2 separate regions of the Homo sapiens genome follow, and region 2 is linked to region 1. Evidence: promoter capture Hi-C in 16 types of primary human blood cells and fetal thymus (Javierre and others, 2016). All regions are on one chromosome and are shown on one strand. The core of a region is centred on a gene start or on the middle of the fragment in contact, and the rest is flanking DNA. Distances in the headings are between cores, read along the strand shown.

Region 1 (6,840 bases), core at 2,300-4,799:
AGAAGAACCATGATATCAATGTTTCACATCATAATCACATCCCCACTCAATCTTAAAAGCCTCATAGAGCATGTTATCTCATCATATTGAGACCAATCAATACAAAATTCCATCTTATCAGCTCTGTGGAAAACTTCAAATCTTCTGATGTGTGGCCAGATGAAGCCAACAGATCAAACTCATCAAACCACAGATGGATGTAGGAAGCTCAAATACTTCTGCCACGGGACTTCAATCCTCCACTGCTCTATCACAGCCTTTCAGCTAAGACTTACTATTTACCTGCTTCGTAACTTGCTCAATGAATTCATGAACACCGATTAGAAATGAGGACCTCGTAAGGAGGAAACGATACTTTGACATCATTCCGCCAAACAGAAGGAATCAAGTAGGCAATTAGATGGTACATTCTGATGAAGAATGCTTCAGGTCAATTAAGGAAAATAGCCACGTAATATAAAAATCCCCATATTTCAAGAAGAAACACCAACTTACATGGGCCATGCTTTGAGAATTGTAAGAACTGATCAGTCTTCACTGGGGTTCCTCTATCTGAGAAGTTCAAAAGCTAGAAAATCCAGAGAGGAGAAAAGGAGGCTTTAGTGTTCTCAATGACATACATTAATAAACCTTCCTGTCCCTTCATTTCAGCTTCCAAACTGTGCTACAAACACCCTCAAACAAAATTTGGAGAACAGTGGAATTCAAGCCCCAGTTAACTAAGCTGTACAGAGTTGATCGCAGAGGTGTGGCACTTCTTAAGGAAGGCAGAATCAGACACAAGCTTTCCCACCAGGCCCCCATTTTGGGAATGTTGATCTAGGTCTCAAATTGGGTTGCACAGTCTTCTCTTGAACAGATTCTCCTCACTCCATTCCCACGTTCTAAGCCTAAGAAAGAGTCCATATCACCCAATCCAGAGCTTCTTTAATGGTGACAGTATAAATCTGAGGTTGGTCAAGACACGGGAGGTAGAGAACATAGGAGAAAATGATCAGGCAGTTACTAATATGGCTCAGTTTTCTCATCACTAAAATAGTAATAGGAGTATCAGCTCCAACATGTGGTTGTCCTGAAGAATAAGAAAACCCACCCCAAAAGTTAATAGAATACTTGCTTAACATGAGTTGGCTCTTTTGTTTTGTTTTGTTTTGTTTTATTTTTTGAGACGGAGTCTCGCCCTGTCACCCAGGCTGGAGTGAGTGCAGTGGCGCCATCTTGGCTCACGGCAACCTACGCCACCCAGATTCAAGTGATTCTCCTGCCTCTGCCTCCCTCCCGAGTAGCTAGGACTACAGGCGCATAGTCACGCCCAGCTAAGTTTTGTATTTTTAGTAGAGACGGAATTTCACCATGTTGGCCAGGATGGTCTCCATCTCCTGACTTCGTGATCCGCCCGCCTCAGCCTCCCAAAGTGCTGGGATTACAGGCGTGAGCCACCGCGCGCAGCCGAGTTAGCTCTTACTATGGTAGCTCCCTCTTATCCACAGGGGGGAGATACACTCTAAGATCCTCAGTAGATGTCTGACGGAACCCCATATATACTATGTTTTTTCTTATACATACACACCTATGATTAAGTTTAATTTATAAATTAGGCACCATAAGAGATTTTTATTTTTCTGTTTGTTTGTTTGTTTGAGACAGGGTCTCACTCTGTTGCCCAGGCTGGAGTGCAGTGGTGTGATCTTGGCTCACTGCAACCTCCACCTCCTGGGAGCCTCCCAAGTAGCTGGGATTACAGGTGCCCACCACCACGCCTGGCTAATTTTTGTATTTTTACTAGAGACAGGGTTTCACCATGTTGGCCAGGCTGGTCTCGAACTCCTGACCTCAATTGATCCACCCATCTCAGTATCCCAAAGTGCTGGGATTACAGGCGTGAGCCACCGCACCCGGCCACCATAATTGAGTAATAGCAATAACTAATAATAAAATAGAACAACTATAATAGCATACTGTAATAAAAGTTATGTGAACATGGCCCCTCTCTCTCAAAATATCTTATTGTACCAAAATCACCTATTTTCAGATCATGGTTGACTGAGGGTAACAAAGTGAAGAAAGTGAAACTGCCGATTAAGGGGGCACTACTGCATTGGAGTTATTACGTAAACATTATACATCCTTTATTTCATTTTAATTAAACACTTGTTTCCACTTAATTTAATTTATGTATCTATCTATCTATCTATCTATATATATATATATATATATATATATATATATATTTTTTTTTTTTTAGAGAAGGGATCTCGCTCTGTCGCCCAGGCTGGATTGCGGTGGTGCCATCTCCACTCACTGCAACCTCCGCCGCCTCCCAGCTTCAAGCACTTCTCCCACCTCCGCCTCTCAAGTAGCTGTGACTACAAGCGCACGCCACCATGCCTGGCTAATTTTTATATTTTTAGTAGAGACGGGGTTTCACCATGTTGCCATGTTGGTGGTCTCGAACTCCTGAGCTCAGGCAATCCACCCGCCTCAGCTTCCCAAAGTGCTGGGATTACAGGCATGAGCCATGGCACCCGACCTGTTTCCACTTTTTACTTAAAACGTAAGTTTCTCTGGCATGCTTTCTTTTAATTCTAACTAAAAAATTAAGAGCAACTCTTCTTTAAAAACAAACAAATAAAAAACCAACAGAAAAGATTCTCTGACATTTCAATTTCCTCTGTCCCCTAGCAGCTAGAGAGAGAGAGCTACTGCTGTGGGATAATGCAAAATTGAAGAACCTTAAGAAAAAGCTGGGTCCTATTTCTGTGCAATATGGAGATTGATGGAAATGTTTACAGCTGTCATCTTGCTCTCCTTTCTTACATAATTTTGTCATTAGTTAAGTAATCTGCACAACAGATCCTTTGAAGTCCTTTTCCCTGCACTGATAATTTTCAGATGACATTGCTCTCATCTTTAAAAGGTGTAAATACTTTATACAGTTTTTTCCAAACAAGAAGAGGCTTCCTGGCAATCCCATTTCTTCCCGCTGCATGCAAAAGGTATCATAACTATCGTTTCCTTTTTAAACTGAGAGTTGAAGAGTCTTTTGCTCCTTTACATAAATCAATTACAGTGATTTTATCCAAAATAGTAACAAATATTAATAGCTCAGGTTCGCATGGAGGCCATGCACCCAGTCTTCGCGGATGCACACCGGCCCCGGCCGACGCACCCTCCCTGCCCTGCCGCTCCCGCACTCGCCGGCCCGGGATCCTCGCCCGGTCCACCCAACGCTCACGCATGTCTCAGTCCGGGTTCCGCGCCGACACAGGTCTGCAGAGCTCCCGGTGCTGTGTTCGTTTGCAGAAATTCAAGTTGCCCGGCGGGGCTGCTCCAACCTCGGAGCTGGGCGCTGACTTCTCCCTCGATGAACTCCAAAGCTCGCTGCCGGGTCAACGACCACAATGAACTGGCGAGGAGGCAGAGATTGAGGTCGTTCCAGTGGCCGCTGAGAAATGTAGTTTCAGGCTACATTGGCCGGATAGCTGCAGCCTCTGGGAAATGCAGTCCTGAGCCGTCACACCGCCGAGCATGCCCGGCGCAGTCCACAAGGCCGCCCACCGGCGCCCGGAGACTTCTGGGCGCTCCCGTCCGGCTGAGAATGCGCAGGCGCAGGCGCTCGAGTTGCTGGGAGCCATAGACCTCGAAGCTGGGGCGTCTGACACCTGAGGCCCGAAGTAGGTGGCCAGCTTCTTAGAGGGCCAACCCAGGGCATTAACACACCAGGTCAGAAAAAGCAAAAACAAAAACAAACAAAAAATGATAATCTATACCAAAATATGTTATTACTTTAACACAAAAATATGAAAACTAGGTGTTTGAAATTATCTTTCCGTACTGTTTGCTTTTCGCTACAGAAATGCTATTATTTAACAGAATATTAATAGGATTAATAGTGGCAATTAGACTAATCACGTGTGAGAAAAATATATTTCTGTCCTCTGATACAGGAATTTTAAGTTTCTATTAAATATTTAAATTTTGTGGGTTCTATCTAAGATGCTAAATGTAAGACCTTTTAAAAGGAGAATGTAAATAAGGCTAATCAAACAGATATTAACTATATGTAATAGGCATTTATCTTTCTGTCCCATCATACGTTTAGGAGATATTTACTCTTTCTGGTTCCTTTTCCAGTAACACCTCTCTGTATTAGCTGCCTGTAGCCTTTATGGCATTCTTCTTTTGGTTTATGTAATGCTAAAACTGAATACAGGCAAACGTGAAATTCACCTTGACTGTCAGCTCCGCTTTTTGTTTGTTTTGTTTTTGTTTTGTTTTGAGACAGGGTCTCCCTCTGTCGCTCAGACTGGAATGCAGTGGCGCTATCTCGGCTTACTGTAACCTCTGCCTCCCAGGTTCAAGTGATTCTCCCACCTCGGCCTCCAGAGTAGCTGAGACTACAGGGGCGCGCCACTACACCTGGCTAATTTTTGTATATTTTTTGTAGAAATGGGGTTTTGCCATCTTGCCCAGGCTAGTCTCGAACTCCTGGGCTCAAGCGATCCACCCGCCTCAGCCTCCCAAAGTGCTGGGATGACAGGGTGAGCCACCGCGGCCAGCCGAGCTCTGTTCTTATTAAGCCCACATTACAGTGATTCCTGGAGTCAGTCCAGGGTGATGACATTGATAAGGAGGTGGGGAAGGGGAGTGCTGGGGAGGGAAGGGCGGGGTCCCTTTAAATGATATGGAAGGGGGAAAGGGAGGTGCTGGGTACAGGAGGGTGTGGTCCCTGGCTAGGGCTCCACCCCTGGCCCTGTGCCAACTGACCTAGGTGAGGGCAGGCATTTTTGTTTTCCTGCCCAAATGTTGCGTTTCCCAAGACCACCCTGGCCTGCCACGCCCCCATCCTGTTCCCGCCCCCATCCTGTCCCTATAAATACTCTGAGACCCTAGCAAGCAGACACACAAGCCGCTGGACATCCAGAGGAACATGTTGGCGGAAGAAGACATGACAGACGCTGGCACGCGGGCAGGCCACCCACCAGAAGGACGCGGAGTTTGGCTGGGGCAGTCCAAGGAGAGCCGGTGCTGCGGAGCAGCCCGATTCCAGGGGAAAACCATTTCCCTTCTGGCTCCCCCAACTGTTGAGAGCTACTTCCACTCAAAACCCTGCAGTCATCCTCCAAGCCCATGTGTGATCTGATTCTTCTGGTACACCAAGACAGGAACCCCGGGATATGAAAGCCCTCTGTCCTTGCGATAACGCAGGGATCTAATTGAATTGACTAACATAAGCCGCCTGCGGACAGCTAAAGAGCATCCTGTAACACGCCCACTGGGGCTTCAGCTATAAACATTCACCCCTAGACACTGCCATGGGGTCAGAGCCCCACAGCCCGCCCGTCTGTATACTCCCCTGGAGGTTTGAGCAGCGGGACACTGAAGAAGCGAGCCACACCCCCATCGCACGCCCTGCCAGGGGGACAAGGGAACTTTTCTCTTATCAACATCAACCTAAGTAGCCTCGCATCAAAAGCATTTGACTGTCAATAGTTAGGATTTTCCCTACCAGCAGTAGCAAGTTTTTAGCCTTATTGGAATTAGTTTCCAGCTCTGCAAAAATGTTCATCTGCTTTGTAACTCCAGGCTTTTTTGGTAGAGCAGCTGTTTGTTGACCAGTCGCTTTGCCTCTGTAAGTTCACCATATAGGCTATTCATGTCTAAAGTGTTCATTTTCAAACCCTCTGAAACTCATTGGGTATCTATTACAATGTCTGAAGACAAATATTTCATTAACAAATAAGAAGGTGATAGACCTGGAGTGAGAATCCACCCAATTCATGTCAATCGGAGACAAATTTGCAATATCCTGTGATTCCTGAACTGGCTGTGGTCACTGATCACTTCTGTCCTGGAGGAACTAGAGACATTCAAGACAAATAAGGACTCATCTAGTCCCCTGATTAAAGGACTTTTCATAGAGGCTGCATTAAGGGCCAAATTATGTACAATGTGCTCTCTGAGATGGGGATGTGTAAATAGCCGTCAAAATGTCATCTGGGCAGAAATTTGTTTGGGAGGATAAATTTATGTTCAGGGGTGAGGGGTGAATACAATAGAAATTTGTATTTTGCAGAGGGAAATGTGGGTTCCATGGTGGGTAGAAATAAAATAGATTAGTAGAATACTTAGAATGTCAAAGAAATTTTTAAATCATAGGGTTTTTTTTTTGAGAAAATTTTTGAAATGATTTTGAAATGATTTATTCAAAAAGTGCCCCTCAAAAGTGATCACTCCATAGATGACAGCTAAGGATCGCAATCTTACTGCTATGCCCTTGTGTTTTGAGTGAAGACTTGTGTGACTATAGTGAGGGTCTAGGTGTTTAATCGTCAGAGGTAAATTGGAGATTTCAGATGAGGCTGTCTCATGGAAGAGGGAGGAAGGATACTCACAAACCCTACAGCTGGAATCTGAGCATCCAGTGGAAAATGACAGTCCCTGATCCCTCAGGAAACTTTCTCTGGCCACTGTCAGTGATGTTCTAATCTAGGAGAGCAGAACTTTCCCCCTTATAATGTTTCTCACTGCATTTCCTGAAATATATTTCGTCTAAGTTCCATACGTTTATCTGAAAAGAATAACCACTTACCAAATTGTGTTTCCAACTAGGATAGTGGCCGCAGTTGTATTATCTTGTGCATTTGTCAAGAGAGGTCATCCGAACGCTGAGATAAAGGCTTGGGATTCCATTGTCTCATCTCTTTCTGGGAGTGATTTTCCTCTCATCTGGAAGTGCAGAGACAGAGTCTTCATAGGGAACTGAGATTACCTCCAAAAAACATTTGTGAAGTGAGCAATTCCTAGAAGGCTGTTAATGTTGATTAATGAAATTATACA
Region 2 (6,840 bases), core at 1,776-4,275, 110 kb after region 1:
AGTCTATGGATTCCTTCTTCCTTTTCCACACATACTCCTGCCATTCAGGCCAACAGAAAATGCTTCAAAATATCTACAAATTTTACTTCTCATCACCTGCACCACCACCACTGTGTCCAAGCTTTCATGATTATGACCATAGCCACCTAAATGGTCTCTCATCCCCAGAAACCAGAATGATCCTATTAAGCCTCAGTCAGATCACGTCATCCTTTGCTCCAAACCCTCCATGATTTCCATCTGTGAGTAAAAGGCAATGTTCTTATCACATCCTCCAAGGCCCCACTTAGTCTCTTCATCCCTCTCCATCTCTATTCCCCCTTCTTCCCACTCTGCAAAGTGCCAACTTCATCCTGGTCCCCTATTGAGTTGCTCACTGCTCCCTGCGGGCAAGAGACATCCTTCCTCTGAGCCTTTACAGTGGCTAGTCCAACTAATTGGAATGCCTTTCCCTCAGATAACTGTGTGGTTTGCTTAATTGTTGCCTTCTAGACTTTGCTCAGATTCCACCTTCCCAATGAGGTTTACCATTTCCAGTCTATTTAAATAGAAACTCACACTTCTCTCTAGCCCTAAACTCAATCCTACGTTGGCTGCCCTTCGTCTCCCTGCAGTTGTTACTGGAACCTATCAAATAATTTACTAATTTATTACATTTGTTGTTTATTTTATTTTCTCCAACTAGAATTAGGTTTCATAAGATTTTTATCCTTGTTTTTAAAAAATTGATGCTATTACCTAAAGTATTCCTTAGACTACTCATTTTGTCTCAAATAATAATATATATGCCCAACTGATGACTAAATGGGTAAATGAATGGCTTTATGAATATCACCTACGTCTTCCATAGCCATGTCAGACTATTAGAAAGTTAACTTAATGTATGTTTTCCAAAACAACTCATGTCCGTTTATCTAAACCAGATGGCTAAAATAGCCCTGGTCTTGTTGGCATCGCCTACTTCCCCTTGCCTCTTCCCTTACCTCTTCAACCATCCCACTGTCAGTTCCTCTAGACTGGGAGCTCAGTGGCTCATTTTTGCATTGGATCACTGCAAAAAAATTTCCTAAGCCTATCTGCTTCTATTCTGGCATCTATTTAATTCTTCCTTTCAGGGAGGCATAGAGTGTTTCTAAAATCTACATATATCATGTAACTTCTTTGCTTATCCTTTCACGATTCCTCATACTTTGTGGATAATGGACAAATGCCCCCTGATGGTATGTCTGTTTGTCCATGATCTGCACTTGCTGAACACAGCAGCCACATCTCCCAGCTTGGGTTTCACTCTCCAACCACATTTGATTACTTGCCTGGTGTCCCACAGGGTCATGATCTCTTTCTTCCTTGACTTTTAATTTAATTTAATTGAATTTAAAGTTCCAGGATACATGTGCAGGTTTGTTACACAGATTAGTCTTCCCTGACTTTTAGCATGCTATTTCTTTGACCCCCAAATAGCCTTTCTCTGCCTGGACACTTCTTCCTTCTTCTTTTTTTTATTATTTTTTATTTTTTCCATCTCTCTCACACCTAGTTTTATGTCCTTCTTACCTACTCCCGTATCGCCACCACTATCTTTCCAGGTGTAATATTTGGTTTATCTATCTGTCTCTCTCTGCTATACTGTAAATTGCTGGGCTGCAAGAGATAAATCTTTGAATTCTATATCACCAAGACCTAGCACTGTTTAATATAATACATTGACTCTTGAACAACACAGGTCTGAACTGCACAGATCCACTTACATGTGGATTTTCTTCCACTGCGGCCTCTCCTGAGACAGCAAGACCAACCCCTCCTTTTCATCCTCCTCCTCCTCCTCAGCCTACTCAACATGAAAATGACAAGGATGAAACCTTTATGATGATCCACTCATCCATTTTCTTTTCTCTAGCTTATTGTAAGTATGCTGTATATAATACATATAACATACAGAATGTGTTAACTGTTCATGTTATCAGTGAGGCCTCCAGTCAACAGTAGGCTACTAGTGGTTAAGTTTTGGGGAAGTCACAAGTCATGCAGACATTTTGGACTGCGTGGGGGAAGCAGCACCCCTTACCCCCACGCATTGTTCAAGGGACAACTGTAATCTGTAAGCAGCTGAAGGAAATGCTTGTACTTTATTTTTCTTTCCACCATCTTAAGATACCTTCATGGGTTGTAAAATACTTTAAAAAGATTGTATTTTCAGCACAGTACAACTCCAAGGTCAGCCAAGTCTGTGTGAAATTATAAATCTTGTGACGATATTTTTGTGGTTAGGACTCGAGATAGACCAGTTATTTTTCCAAATAGAACCTATCCTGCTATTTACCTTAAAAGATAATCATTTGTAATGTGTCAAAGCAACATGATACCAATATCTATGTAATCTATTACATCCTAACAGACTTAAATTTTTTTTAAATTACGGAGCAGTCATGCGTGAGTTCTTTCTTCCTTTTTTCCTCCAGGCCCAAAAGCCTGATTGCCAAGCCAATCATCCATAGGTGAAAGTGTGAATGTTGCTGGACGTGGTGGCTCACACCTGTTATCCCAACTCTTTGGGAGGCCAAGGCGGGAGGACCACTTGAGCCAAGTTTGAGACCAGGCTGGGCAACATGATGAGATCCCCATCTCTCCCCCACAACCCCCTGCAGCCAAAAAAAAAATTGTGAATGTGTGTGAATTACTGGCATACAACTAAATTAAACAAGCAAAAAAGACATTTAAACTCCATGTTCTAGATCCTGGGCCCTGGGCCACAGAAACTTTGCACAGTTAAGCCTGGCTCAACAATCATGGCTTATACAAGTCAGTATTTTCTCCATCATTGAGTTAGAGCAAAAACACATGAGCAGAGGAAACATGGCAGACATAGATAGCAGTGGGTGTCCTGACAGTTCCAAGACAGGAGGAAACCCCCCCAAAGCTTAGGTCTTCCAGGATAACACTGAAACTAGAGTGTAGTGTTGCACGGCTGATACTCACCCATCTCTCTCTTCTCTCCACAGGTGAACATCTTAGGCTAGTGTGTCGACTTCTGACTTGGCTCATCTGAACCCAAGTCCTTGGACACATTCACAAACACCCCAGGGTCTTGGGCTTCCAGTTTGTGCTAGAAGGACAAAGGGCAGGTGAAGCTTGTTTGCCGTAACTAGAAGGAGCAGAAACTGCTCCCAGCAGAACAAGATCAAATCATGGGGAACAGTGGTCACCTGCCATTTCTAGAGGAAGCTTTTGCTTTTGGTCACTGAGGACCCTAAGTCTTACATGAGAAGAAAACAAATAGGGTGATGCTGCATGCTTCTGTCCCCAAAGAATCCCTGTGCAGGTGCCGAGGGTGCCCCAAAGACGAGGCTGTGCTTGCCGTGCCCACCACAGAAGCACATTTGACCTGATCAAAAGCAGGTGGAAAAGGTCCTGAAGCACAGATATTTTCTCAGTGATGTTGTTTTCTCCAAAATGAAAGAGGGAAGGTACCCTGGCTTAGGCCCCTGGTGTTCTGATTGAAGGTGAGAATGGAAGTATCTTCTTCAACATGTTCTCCCATCTGACTGCAACAAGTGTGCTCCAGCCACCAGTGTCCCAGTTGCTCTGAATGATGGTGAGAAGGGTACCCAAACACTTGAATGGTACTGTACCCTCTACTTGCCATCTGAATCCTCACTTGTGGAACCCAGGCACTCTGGCTGTATTCGCGAGTAAGCATAGGTGTGGGACTGTGTCCTGCCATTGCACCATCTTTAATCTGGACTTGTGGACCTCAGGCTCTCTGACTATTCATGGACAGAAGTTTCTGCAGGCACAGGTGGGGTGCTGTTTCCTCCCATTGTACACCTGAATTCAGGACTTGTGGACCCCAGGTGTTCTGGCTGTGTTCATGAACAGAAGTGTCCCCCCCAAACAAACCCATATATGGTGCCATCTCCTCCCATTACAGGTATGGTGCCATCTCCTCCCATTGCAGGCATTGCACTGCCTATACTCTGGACTTATGGCCCTCACATGCTCTGATTGTATTCATAAACAGTAGTTTCTTCAGTCACAGATATGGCACCAGCCCCTCCAACAGAAACAGATGTGCTCAAGCTGAGTGGTCCAAAGGCGTTTGACAGAAGTCATGAACAGAAGTATCTTGGGGCACATGTTTCTTCTCTGTTGTGCAGGCTTCTCCAGCAGTAACAGGTTTGCCCAGGCCATATGGGCCCCAAGCGCTCTGACCAGACACAAGAAGAGAAGACTTGCAGTCACAGGTAGTGTGTTGTCCCCTGCTACTGCAACATAGGTGCTTGGAAAGGTGCAACAGGGTGCTCTGCTTGTGGTGGAAACATAAAGGCCTCCAAGCATAGATGTGCTGCTTTCTCCTTCCCTTTGAGGGATGCAGATGTGCTCTGGCCAGCTGCATTCCAGGTGGTCTGTCTGCAAGACAGAAGTGTCCCAAGCACTGGTATGTGCGGGCTCCTCCAACCACAACAGACGTGCTTTGGCCAGATGGTTTCCAGGTGTTATGAACACAAGAAGGAACAGAGGTGCCTTCTGGAACATGTTTCTTCTCAGTGATGTTCTAAGAGGTGTGCTTTGGCAGGACAGGCCCCAGCTGCTCTGACTGTAGGCAGGGAGGAAAGTGTTTCCCAGGAGTTTTTGCTTTCAGTAGTACTGCCCTCTCCAACTGTACCAGAGGTGCTGTAGGCTTGCAGGAACCCCGGTGCTCATGTGTAAGCCTCCCCAACATAAACTAAGGTGCTGCATGCCCCTCTAGGCCCTGTTCTAAAGCTGAGTGCTTCAGATGTGGAGCTGGGTCTGGGGCAGACACACTGGTCCTAGAGCTGTCATTATCCAAAGAAGCCCCAGAGTCCATGAATGGAAATGGGTCGAGAGAGGGGTTAGCAAAAGGTGAACTGTGCCTGATGCTGAGCATCCAGTGATGGCTCCAGAGCTAGAAGTAGTGGCTGTGCAAATGGGAAAAGGACCCGAGGTGCCACCCAAGGCTGAGTGGGTGCTAGCAGAGATATCAAAGATGGATATGGAGGTAACACGTACGCAAAATCTGATGGCATTATGCTCCCATTGGGTGTCTGGGCTGCAGTAAAGGCTCAGTTTAGAGCTTGTATTGAGATTTTACGTTTCTCAAAGGGTAAATGCTATCAAATACATTGGGGGATCCTGCCAGGGGGAGGCTAGAAAGAGGACATGGTAACCATATTGATTTCATCAGAGTTAAAGGCAGACTTGGCTGCCCAGTTGGTCAAGGTCCTAGCTACTAGAAAACAGACAATTGCTGAAGTAGTGATAAGTATGATGGTGCAGACAGGTATCCTAGAAGACTGACTCTTTGCTGCTGCCCTTTAGGAGCTCCAAATGTGACTGAGAGGTGGCTTCTGGGCTAAAGGAAAGGTTCAAAGTGGGGTAGGGCTGTTTACCATAAACATAGGTGGGTTAGTGGGGACTGCCTTTTGCAGGGGGCTGTCCACTCCACACTGCAATGAGCCAGTCAAATGGGAGTTCCAAGACCAGAGGAAACCTAGCCCAGAGCTTGAGTCTTCCAGGCTAACCCTGGGTCCTGGGGGGACCAGGAGATGAGACCCAGGGAATAGTAGTGTCCATGTCGGTCATCTCAAAGGTTCAAAGCAGGCTGGGAGGTCAAGTCTGCAGATGGGCTGACTGGGCAGTGGAAGTGATAAGGTTGGCCAGTTAATGATGGGTTGATATATTCATCTGTTTTCACACTGCTATGAAGAACTATGTGGGGCTGGGTAATTTATAAACAAAAGAGGTTTAATTAACTCACAGTTCCACATGGCTGGGAGGCCACAGGAAACTTACAATCATGGCAGAAGGCAAAGGGGAAGCAAGGCATGTCGTACTTGGTGGCAGGAGAGAGTGCAGAGGAAACTGCCACTTATAAACCGTCAGATCTCATGAGAATTCCCTCACTATCATGAGAACAGCATGGGGGAGACCACCCCTACAATCCAGTCACCTCCCACCAAGTCCCTCCCTCCACACATGGGAATTACAATTCAGATTACAATTCAAAATGAGATTTGGGTGGGGACATAGAGCCAAACCATATCAGTTAGTCAGTGAAGACTGAGGTATCTGTAGAAGTGAGGGAGGAGCACAGTGGTCTGGATGAACCAGTGGGGTGATAGTCAGGGGACTGGCATTCAGTGAGGCTGGGGGAGAAGCTTCCTAAAAGCATTGCCCTTGAAAAGCAGGGCATACCTATCTGATACTGAGGATGTAGAATGCAGTTTGGAGATGCTTCCTAGCTACCTAATCTTCCAAGGCAAACCATGCACTCTTCATCCTGATATTTGTGATGCCTCCCTGGGCTACATGACAGAGGGTGCACTGCAAAGGATGTGAAGGAAAGTCACCACAGGGCAAAGGTGGAAACCCAGGGGCCTTTCCCCAGTGAGACTTTCTGGCTGTTCCTTTGGAACTTCCACCTGCTAGTTGCAGATGTTTGCCACTGGATGGGGCCCCATGCTACGTGGGAACTGTTCAGGACTGTGGGTACTTAGTTCCAGCAGAGCTGGCTCCACCAGGGCACCAGGACTGCAGGCTTCTCAACTCCTGGCCTGGAGAGGCAGCTTCAGCAACCAGTGCCTGGGAATCCACTAGCCCTTTCTCTGTGAGTCACGTGAGGGCAGAATCTGCTCAAAGTCAGAGGGCTGGAGCAACCTGGATTGTGCCAGAGTGAGGGCCCAGCTCACTGGAGGTCAGAGTAAGAGAGTCAAGGATGGGAAGAAACAGGGTTTTGCTCAGTCTTGCAGATACTGAGGCACTCAGGAGGCTCAGGATGGCAGCAACAGGGCATGTGCTAAACTTACCCTAGCCTCTTCCTTT

Evidence for each region. Contacts are between HindIII fragments. The CHiCAGO score rates a contact against its expected background, and 5 or more counts as called.
Region 2: a contact is called between a fragment that was not itself captured here and the fragment with the promoter of ZNF30 in region 1, in 5 of 17 cell types (naive CD4 T cells, total CD8 T cells, non-activated CD4 T cells and 2 more). The highest score is 6.3, in naive CD4 T cells.

The regions. Positions count from the first base shown.
Region 1 is chr19:34,923,612-34,930,451 of GRCh38, reverse strand. It overlaps ZNF30 (zinc finger protein 30), which reads right to left and starts at 3,549. Exons shown (of 5, transcript NM_194325.3): 1 at 3,236-3,549; 2 at 496-568. The coding sequence starts at 504. ZNF30-AS1 (ZNF30 antisense RNA 1) reads left to right here and starts at 3,626. Exons shown (of 3, transcript NR_110749.1): 1 at 3,626-3,723; 2 at 6,618-6,840. The HindIII fragment of the contact is 20,354 bases long and covers 787-6,840 here.
Region 2 is chr19:34,813,650-34,820,489 of GRCh38, reverse strand. LINC01801 (long intergenic non-protein coding RNA 1801) reads left to right here. Exons shown (of 6, transcript NR_033982.1): 5 at 1,724-1,903; 6 at 3,000-4,336. Among named protein-coding and RNA genes, the nearest start is that of LINC01801, 16 kb to the left of the region's middle. The HindIII fragment of the contact is 211 bases long and covers 2,920-3,130 here.